3 separate regions of the Homo sapiens genome follow, and all the other regions are linked to region 1. The links are contacts of gene promoters, found by promoter capture Hi-C in human tissues and cell types (Jung and others, 2019). All regions are on one chromosome and are shown on one strand. Each heading gives the region's core, a stretch centred on a gene start or on the middle of the fragment in contact. The rest is flanking DNA. Distances are from core to core; before and after follow the strand shown. Region 1 holds the start of RRP12 (ribosomal RNA processing 12 homolog). Region 2 overlaps HOGA1 (4-hydroxy-2-oxoglutarate aldolase 1). Region 3 overlaps UBTD1 (ubiquitin domain containing 1).

What was found. The method cuts DNA at HindIII sites, captures the fragments that hold promoters and counts their contacts. A contact is called where the count stands out against the background at its distance.
Region 2: a contact is called between a fragment that was not itself captured here and the fragment with the promoter of RRP12 in region 1, in 1 of the 25 tissues and cell types used here (aorta).
Region 3: a fragment that was not itself captured here is called in contact with the fragment with the promoter of RRP12 in region 1 in 1 of the 25 tissues and cell types used here (bladder).

The regions. Positions count from the first base shown.
Region 1 is chr10:97,399,726-97,402,858 of GRCh38, forward strand. It overlaps RRP12 (ribosomal RNA processing 12 homolog), which reads right to left and starts at 1,615. Exons shown (of 34, transcript NM_015179.4): 1 at 1,368-1,615; 2 at 580-809. The coding sequence starts at 1,506. RefSeq lists an enhancer at 1,099-1,148. The HindIII fragment of the contact is 11,530 bases long and covers 1-3,133 here.
Region 2 is chr10:97,593,049-97,596,181 of GRCh38, forward strand. The region is part of intron 1 of HOGA1 (4-hydroxy-2-oxoglutarate aldolase 1); the gene reads left to right. Among named protein-coding and RNA genes, the nearest start is that of C10orf62, 4.9 kb to the left of the region's middle. The HindIII fragment of the contact is 5,729 bases long and covers 1-3,133 here.
Region 3 is chr10:97,532,667-97,535,799 of GRCh38, forward strand. The region is part of intron 1 of UBTD1 (ubiquitin domain containing 1); the gene reads left to right. Among named protein-coding and RNA genes, the nearest start is that of UBTD1, 35 kb to the left of the region's middle. The HindIII fragment of the contact is 3,452 bases long and covers 1-3,133 here.

The sequences.
Region 1 (3,133 bases), core at 365-2,864:
AATAATGCACTATTTAAATATACTAAAAAAAAAAAAAAAAAAATTAGCCGGGCGTGGTGGCACATGCCTGTAATGGCAGCTACTTGGGAGGCTGAGGCAGGAGGATTGCTTGGGCCTGGGAGATGGAGGTTGCAGTGAGTGAAGATTGCGCTACTGCACTCCAGCCTGGCCAACAGAACGAGACTCTGTCTCAAAATAAATACATGAATTAAGTTAAATTAAAGTAAATAAATTTAGTTCTTGCTAGATAAAACGTTTCCTAATCACTGTTACTCAGCATTTATTTACTCAACATATGTTTATTGAAAATACTCTGTGTAAAAGTGCTGTGTTAGGTATAGCTGAGGAGAGAAATGTTTGGAAAATATTTCTACCCTCAAGTACTTAAGCAGAGGAGATGTTCTTATAAAAAGCAGAAAGTAGAACCTGCCCTAGGAGGAGACATAAAGGGGAGGAGCGATGACGCATCATCCAGAAATACCAGCTGTTGTCATCGGAGACCTGTCGGCCAGAGCTGAAGAAAAGGCATGAGTTGGCCTCTCCTCACTATCCTATGGCCCTCCCGACCCTCGCCCCTACCTCCTTGTGGGCAGCCGAGTTGGACTCCCAGAAGCGCTGTACTTTGCTGAAGGTGACGTTTGTGCAGTCGGAAAGGCCACTCAGGAAGGTACCCGAGGACTTCTCGGTGAGAACCAGCTCCGCCTCTTCTTCCATGGGCGTCTCCGGGGCTTCGCTTTTGCCCAAGCGCAAGGACCCTGACTGCAGCTCATTATGTAACTTCACAGCATCGACTGTCAGGTCACTCCTTCCTGAGAGCCAGAGGCACAAGATAAGGTCCAAGCCTCCTTTTGGTCAAGAGAACAGAACAACCCCTGGGAAACAAACCAGCCCAGGCCAAATCTCCAACCCGAGAGGCTGAATTCTGAACACAGCCAGTCTCATAAAACCACTGTATGCCTAAAAACTTGAAAAACCAAGGAGAAAGGGAATCCTCCATGTAAAAGTTTCTGCTTCCCTGTAGCAGCGGCATAAACGCCACTGGGAATCGGCTGGGAGCTACATTCAGAGGGCCTGCAAAATAAATGAAGGTGAACGCGCTCTGTAAAGAGCTACCCAAGGTCCAAGCCATCTGTCTCAACTCTGACACCCGCGGTACCTTACACAAGACATTTCCCTACTGCGGACCTCAGTTTCTGTATCTGCTAAATTGGAAGGACTGCCCTTCAGAGAGGGCTCCAGATCCGACATCCTAAGAGACGAAAGGTCCAATGCCTGGCCCCGCACTCTCCCAGAGGCCCCAGACTCATCTGGACCCAGGTCTGCCTGGAACCCCGCCCCCGGCTGCGCTCGGGTCTCAACCCAGCTACCTGACGGCCGGCTGAAGAAGCGGCTGCGGGCGGCCTGACGGTGGCGGCAGATGGCGGGGTTGCTGTCGCTGCTGTGGCCTTTCTTCCAGCGCTTCAACTTAGCTGAGACACCAGAAGGCAACTTTCCCGAGCGACCCATGTTGACTAAGCCGTGGCGAGGAATGAGCTTAAATGACCGGCTTCCAGGGACGTAGAAACACGCTCAGAACCCACGTGGATACCCTGTAGCCTTCACTTCCTCTTCTTCTGGCGTCACTTCCGGATTCGTGTGCATTACTATGGTAAAACAGTCAACATCCGGTTTTACACCTCCTCCTGGCTTCGGATGGGGAGGAGCTCCAAGGAGATCCGTTGCTAGGGAGGAAGTTAGGTTGCTAAGGGTTCTATGGGGTTCTTACTCCAGCCAGGACCAGGTTTCAGGGCCACAGGCGTAAGCCTTATAAAACTGGAGTTTGGCTGAGCGTGGTGGCTCATGCCTGTAATCCCAATACTTTGGGAGGCTGAGGCGGGTGGATCATTTGAGGTCAGGAGTTTGAGACCAGCCTGATCACCAGGGTGAAACCCCGTCTCTACTAAAATAAAAAAATTAGCTGGGCTTGGTGGCGCGCGCCTGTAATCCCAACTACTCGGGAGGATGAGGCACAAGAATCACTTGAACTCGGGAGGCGGAGTTTGCAGTAAGCCGAGATCACGCCTCGGCACTCCAGCCTGGACAACAGAGTAAGACTGTCTCAAAAAAACAAAACAAAGCAAACAAAAAACTGGAGTTCTTTTGCAGTTAAACAACAACAAAAAGTACATTTATATTACATTTGAAAATCTATTTTCAAAATTAAGCATAGAAACACATTTATATGAAAGTCATATACCTTCATATAAAAGTATATATGTAATCCCAGCACTCTGGGAGGCCGAGGCGGGCAGATCACCTGAGGTCACGATGTTCGAGACCAGCCTGACCAACATGGAGAAACCCTGTCTCTACTAAAAATACAAAATAAGCCGGGCGTGGTCGCGCATGCCTGTAATCCCAACTACTGGGGAGGCTGAGGCAGAAGAATCGCTTGAACCTGGGAGGCAGAGGTTGCGGTGAGCTGAGATCACGCCATTGCACTCCAGCCTGGGCAACAAGAGTGAAACTCCATCTCAAAAAAAGAAAAAAAGAAAAAAAAGAAAAGTCAAAACTTATGGAGACTTGAAAGTGTGAAAATTAGCTTGACTTGAAAAGAGAAAAAAGCAGTCAGTGGTGTTCTAGACAAGCTTTGCTATTTTCATTTATTACTGGAGATACTCAGTTGCTAAGCCACCTTGCCTTATGACAGCATTCCATCCCTAATTAATCCCTGGTTCTCCAATTTCTCTCTCTCTCTCTCTTTTTTTTTTTTTTTTTTGAGACAGAGTCTTGCTCTGGTGCCCAGGCTGGAGTGCAGTGGCACGATCTCGGCTCACTGCAACCTCCACATTTCAGGTTCAAGCAGTTCTCCTGCCTCAGCCTCCCAAGTAGCTGAAATTACAAGCATGCACCACCGCGCCCGGCTAATTTTTTTTTTTGTATTTTCAGTACACGCAGAGTTTCACCATGTTGGCCAGGTTGGTCTCGAACTCCTTTCCTCAGGTGATCTGCCCACCTCCCAAAGTGCTGGGATTACAGGCATGAGCCACCGCACCTGGCATCCGGCCAATTCCCAGTTCTCCTAATTCCACCTCAGAACCAGCAACCGATCCAGTTTATCCCCACTCCCCTGAGACCCTCCTTAAAATCCTTC
Region 2 (3,133 bases), core at 187-2,686, 190 kb after region 1:
AAAGAGAATGGTCAGATCACTCACTGTTAAGACTACGTAAAGACAAAGAAGAGTAGTTAACAGCTTCTAGGCTCTTGCCTGAGAGTTGGCTGGGAGGGTGGCTAATTTTCCAGATCAAGTCTTAATTCCATTAAAGTTCATTGGGGGCCGAACACGGCGGCTCACGCCTGTAATCCCAGCACTTTGGGAGGCTGAGGCAGGTGGGTCATCTGAGATCAGGAGTTTGAGACCAGCCTGGCCAACATGGTGAAATCCCATCTCTACTAAAAATACAAAAAATTAGCTGGGTGTGGTGGCAGGCACCTGTAATCTCAGCTACTCGGGAGGCTGAGACAGAAGAATTGCTTGAACCTGGGAGGTGGAGGTTGCAGTGAGCCGAGACCATGCCACTGCCCTCCAGCCTGGGTAACAGAGCCAGACTCTGTCTCAAAAAAAACATAAAAAAGAAAAAAATAAATAAAGTTCATCACAAAAATGCTTAAGCATTTCATCAGGAATGTAATTTCTTTCCAGAGGGAGGTTATGAATTATGTCATGCAAAAAACTTTGGCCGCAGACCAGGGCAGAAAAAAATAAAGAACTTCTTTTTCTTTTGCACAACAAATTGTCAACACACACCTCAACACCTATGCTAGGCACCACACAGGAGGCCAGAATGCATCCAGGCAAAGTAAGGCAAGCACTGGGCAAGGAAAACAGAATGCTGGGTAGCCGACTTGAGCTTGTTGGCCCGCATTTGGAAGGTGTTCCAGGCAGAAGGGAACAACACAAGCAAGGGTGCAGAGGGAGGGAAGTGCAGTGTCTGGGGAACCATGGCAGTCAACTTGTTTTTTTTTTGAGACCGAGTTTCACTCTTGTCACCCAGGCTTGAGTGCAGTGGCACGACCTCGGCTCACTGTAACCTCTGCCTCCCGGGTTCAAGCGATTCTCCTGCCTCAGCCTCCCGAATAGCTGGGATTACAAGCGTGCACCACCACGCCCAGCTAATTTTTGTATTTTTAGTAGAGATAGCGTTTCACCACGTTGGCCAGGCTGGTCTCGAACTCCTGACCTCAAGTGATTGGCCTGCCTTGGCCTCCCAAAGTGCTGGAATTACAGGCATGAGCCACTGCGCCTGGTCTTTTTTTTTTTTTTTTTTTTTTTTTGAGACAGAGTCTCACTCTGTCACCCAGGCTACCGATCAGTGGTGCGATCTGGGCTCACTGCAACCTCCACCTCCCAGGCTTAAGCAATTCTCCTGCTTCTGACTCCCGAGTAGCTGGGATTACAGGTGCGCGCCTCCATGCTTGGCTAATTTTTGATTTTTAATTTTTTTTATTTTTTTAAGACAGAGTCTTACACTGTCACCCAGGCTGCAGTGCAGTAGCCCAATCTTGGCTCACTGCAACCTCTGCCTCCTGGGTTCAAGCAATTCTCCTGCCTCGGCCTCCTGAGTAACTGGGATTACAGGTGCCTGCCACCATGCCCAGCTAATTTTTGTATTTTTAGTAGAGACGGGGTTTCACCATGTTGGCCAGGCTGGTCTTGAACTCCTGACCTTGTGGTTCGCCCGCCTCGGCGTCCCAAAGTGCTGGGATCACAAGTGTGAACCATTGTGCCTGGCCTAATTTTAATTTTTTTTTAGTAGAGACAGGGTTTCACCATGTTGGCCAGGCTGGTCTCGAACTCCTGGCCTCAAATAGTCCACCCGTCTTGGCCTCCCAAAGTGCTGGGATTACAGGTGTGAGCCACTGTGCCTGGCCCAATTTCTTATTTTATAGGAGAGGTCAGATTGAAAAATTGTGTCTAATCCCACACATGGGGGTGGGGGTGGAGGATTGAAGAGTTCTAGGGACCTTTGTAGATGGGTGCTGTCCATGGGGAAATATTATACAAGGAACAGGTAACGGAAATGCAGAGCAGGGAGGCCCAGTGGAGAGATCCCAGGAAGACTTCTCAGAGGAGGTGGCAATGATGATGGACTAAGAACGCATAATAATGTCTGGGGACACTCCTTATGTGATTCTTTTTAGCCACAGTAAGTCACCATGTTGCTTATGTGTCCCCAGCCCCAAACGCCCACTCCCCTCACTGCCACCCCAGCTCCCAGAGCAGCAAGTGTAATCATGGGGGCAGGGGAGAGTATCTTCCTTTGTCTTACAGCTGGAGGGGGCCTTGTACACCCACTCCTAATATCACAGTAGGTGTACAATGAGAGGTCATTGAGAGCAGCCTCCCCTTCAACACCAGCCACCCTCCTGATTTAAGGTTTGAGCACTTTCTCCTGACTCCATAAGAATGACAGCTAACACTTATTGAGCACCAGGTTCTATTCGAAGTACTTTATAAATAGTATCTCATTTAAACTTCAAAACAACTCTGAGAGGCTGGGTGTGATGGCTCATGCCCATAATCCCCAGCACTTTGGGAGGCCAAGGCAGGCGGATCACCTGAGGCCAGGAGTTCGAGACCAGCCTGGCCAACATGGTGAAACCCTGTCTCTACTAAAAATACAAAAATTAGCCGGCATGGTGTCAGGTGCCTGTAATCCCAGCTACTCAGGAGGCTGAGGCAGGATAATTGCTTGAGCCTGGGAGACAGAGGCTGCAGTGAGCCGAGGTCGCACCACTGCACTCCAGCCTGGGCAACAGAGTGAGACTCTGTCTCAAAACAAAACAAAACAAAACTCTGAGAAAGGCACTAATATCATCACTATTTTTTAATTGAGTTAGCCTGGGCTTCTCTGACTTCAGGGCCTGTGCATCTGACCCCTCTTCTGTGAGCCCTCTGCTTTTCTGCTTTTTCCCCAGTCCCTGCTTCATTGGAGATCCTGGCCTTTTCCTCTCCTCTGGCCCCCTCTCTACACTAACAGGGACACATCAGGCTCACACCTGGACATCTAACCAGGGTGAAGGAGGGGCTCTTTGGGGTACCCACTCACAGATTTCTGGGACATTTTCTTATCCTTTAAAACAGTCCTATAAGCTAGGATTGAAATGATTTCACTGTCATCCCATAGAAAAGGAAACAGACTCAAAGATGTGATGTGACTTGTTCAATATCCAGAGGTGACTCTTGAGTCTAGTGCTGCCCTGACTACGCCACACTCCCTCTTCTCCAGCCAGGCACTTCTTCCTTCTTGGGAGTCAGGCAT
Region 3 (3,133 bases), core at 398-2,897, 130 kb after region 1:
GTAGTCCCAGCTACTTGGGAGGCTGAGGCAGGAGAATCGCTTGAGTCCGGGAGACGGAGGTCGCAGTGAGCCAAGTTCGTGCCACTGCTCTCCAGCCTGGGCAACAAGAGCGCAACTGCATCTCAAAAAAAAAAAGAAAGAAAGAAAGAAAGAAAGCCTTGTTGGTCTTTGGTCTTGCCTCTTATCACCTTCATCACTTTCTAATGTTGTGCTCTTATTTCCGGTGTGTCTCGGGCCCCTACCAAGGGCAGCCTGGAGTCTGGCGCATCTTCGCAGTCCATGTGGGTAGGACAGTGCCTGGCCCATGGTCAGGGTCCAGGGGAGGAGGAGTGCTTTGCATCCACTTTCCCAGCTGGAAAGCTCTGTTCCTGGCCTTGTGGCTGACTCCTGCATGGTGTTTCCCTGGGTCACCACGGCGACAAGATGCTCACTTGCAAGCAAATAGGATCCCCTGCCCAGGGCTGCCAGCCTCAGCAGTTCTTGACCTCCAGCTGAGCTGAAACTGAGAGGATGCCTTTTCCACCAGCTGGGAGCTGAGCCCATAGGGCTCCCTCCCTGACCCTTTGGTGACTGTGCTGAAAGCAGATACCTCCTGCTGCCCCGGGTTTGCTGCCTTCTCCTCCCCACCCACTGCTAGAGCCTGTCTGGCATCTATGAAGGGAGGACGTTTGGGCCAAAACAGGTGGTGGTCTCCTAGCACACAGCTACCAACTGCATCCTGTCTGCAAGGGAGACTTCTTCCCGGGGCTTTGCTTTCTCCTGGGTTTCAGCACCATGGAAGGCCGCCTATATTCTACGCCATAGCGGGTGGGAGAAGGGTACGAGGAGGCTGCTCTTGCCTGGCCTTGGGCTGGTGGAGCGTGTCTGAGGGAATGAGGCCTGATCTGTCTGCCCTCCCTCTTCGCAGCATCCCCCTTTGCCCCCCACCTCCACCAAGTCTGACTCAGCCCTTGCTTGACACAGATCTTAAGCTCTGGGCTGGGTGTGGTAGCTCACCCTGTAATCCCAGCACTTTGGGGGACTGAGGCGGGCAGATCACTTGAGGTCAGGAGTTTGAGACCAGCCTGGCCAACATGGTGAAACCCGTCTCTACTAAAAATACGAAAATTAGCTGGGTGTGGTGGTGCAGACCTGTAGTCCCAGCTTCTCAGGAGGTTGAGGCAGGGGAATCACTTGAACCTGGGAGGTCGAGGTTACAGTGAGCTGAGATCACGCCACTGCACTGAAGCCTGCGTGACAAAGCAAGACTCCATCTCAAAAAAAAAAAAAAAAAAATCTTAAGCCCTCATCAGACTCGCCTTGGGAGGGGCAGGTGATGTGGGCCACAGCCCATCTGCCCTAGGCCAGCGGGGCCCTGAAGCCTTCTACTGCCTGGAAACCTTGCAGGCAGGACCAGCTGCAACCTTTTCTGGCCAGCTTCTGCCGCCTTCCCCTAAGACAAAGGTCTGAGGACAGCTTGCCAAGGGTTCCACTGGTTTCTGCCTTTCCACAGGGCTCCTCTGTTGGGCCCTTTCCCACTTCACCCCCTTCCCAGGAAACCAGAGCTCTCACCACCTCCCATGTGGTCCACTCGCTGGTTCATTCTGTCAGCTTTTATTGAGCACCTATTGTGTGCGGATCATTGGCCTGAGCCCTGGGACTGAGATGGGGAGGGCCCAGCCCTGCCCTTACAGCTTGTTTGTGGTACAATTCGCACAAAGCGGCTTAAATGGGAGCTTTGTTTGATCCAAGGCAGCTAGAAACAGTCTTTCCTTCGAGGTACCTTGTAGAAGACACTCCAAGTCCTGGCTAAGCTTTCTCCACTTTGTCATGACAAGGATCTTTTACTGCGTTTCCCCCTAAGTCTCAAGATTTTCTACCACACCACATTCAAGCCAAAGCTTAAGGCACTAAGGAACACACACGCGCGCGCGCACACACACACACACACACACACACACACACACCACCCTTACTCCTAAAAAAGCTAATACATGCACAAATATATATCCTAGAATGTGAAAGGTCCACTACCCCACTTCTGGGGTAGAAAAGGTGGTGTGTGTTCCTCCAGATTTTTTCCCTTGCAGATGCTAACACTGTCTTTACAAACTTGGGCCCATTTGGGAGCTGCCAGTTTGCTTGGGAGGCACACAGCCTCCAAGGGCCACCATCTGACCCCTGGCAGAGACTCCAGCCCACACCTCTGCCCAGAGTAGAAATGATGTCAAGCTCTCAGTCCTCCTTGCCCGCCTCCCCACCAAGCGGCACTCAGCCAGCCTTTCTAAAGCCCTCTGTTGAAAGCCCTCATTGGCCAGGAGGGGGCGGCCTTTCTCCCTGCCACCCCCTTGAGGCCCACACTCCTCTTTGCCTGGAAGAAGAGGGTTTGTGTGGGCAGTGCAGAAATCTCACCTGGACTCTGGAGGCTGGGGGCTTCTGGGCTTTTCTGCCCATTCTTCCTCACTCTGGCCATATCTCTCACCTCCTCTGTCTCATGGCCCCAAGAAACCAAGTCACAGAGGCATCACCATCCAGGTTGGCCAAAGCCTCCTTTCTGGACTGGCCTGCTACCAGCTCCGTGTGAACGGCTAGTTCCCATATGCTGATAAGACATATCAACAGCTAGGTCTTAGCATTTCCATTAAACAACAGCTAGGTCTTAGCATTTCCATTAAAAAAAAATTACTTGGCCTGGTGTGGTGGCTCACGCCTGTAATCCCAGCACTTTGGGAGGCCAAGGCGGGCAGATCACGAGATCAGGAAATTGAGACCATCCTGGCTAACACAGTGAAACCCCATATCTACTGAAAATACAAAAAATTAGCTGGGCGTGGTGGCATGTGCCTGTAGTCCCAGCTACTCTGGAGGCTGAGGCAGGAGAATCGCTTGAACCCAGGAGGCGGAGGTTGCAGTGAGCAGACATTGAGCCACTGCACTCCAGCCTGGGCAACAGAGCAAGACTCTGTCTCAAAAAAGAAAAAGAAAAAGAAAAAAAAATTACTTGCAGCTGTAGTGGCTCATACCTATAATTCTGGCACCATGGGAGGATCACTTGAAGCCAGGAGTTTGAGATCAGCCTGGGCAACAAAGTGAGACCCCATCTCTACAAATTTTTTTTTTTAATTAGCTAGGTGCAGTGGTGCACTCCTGTAGT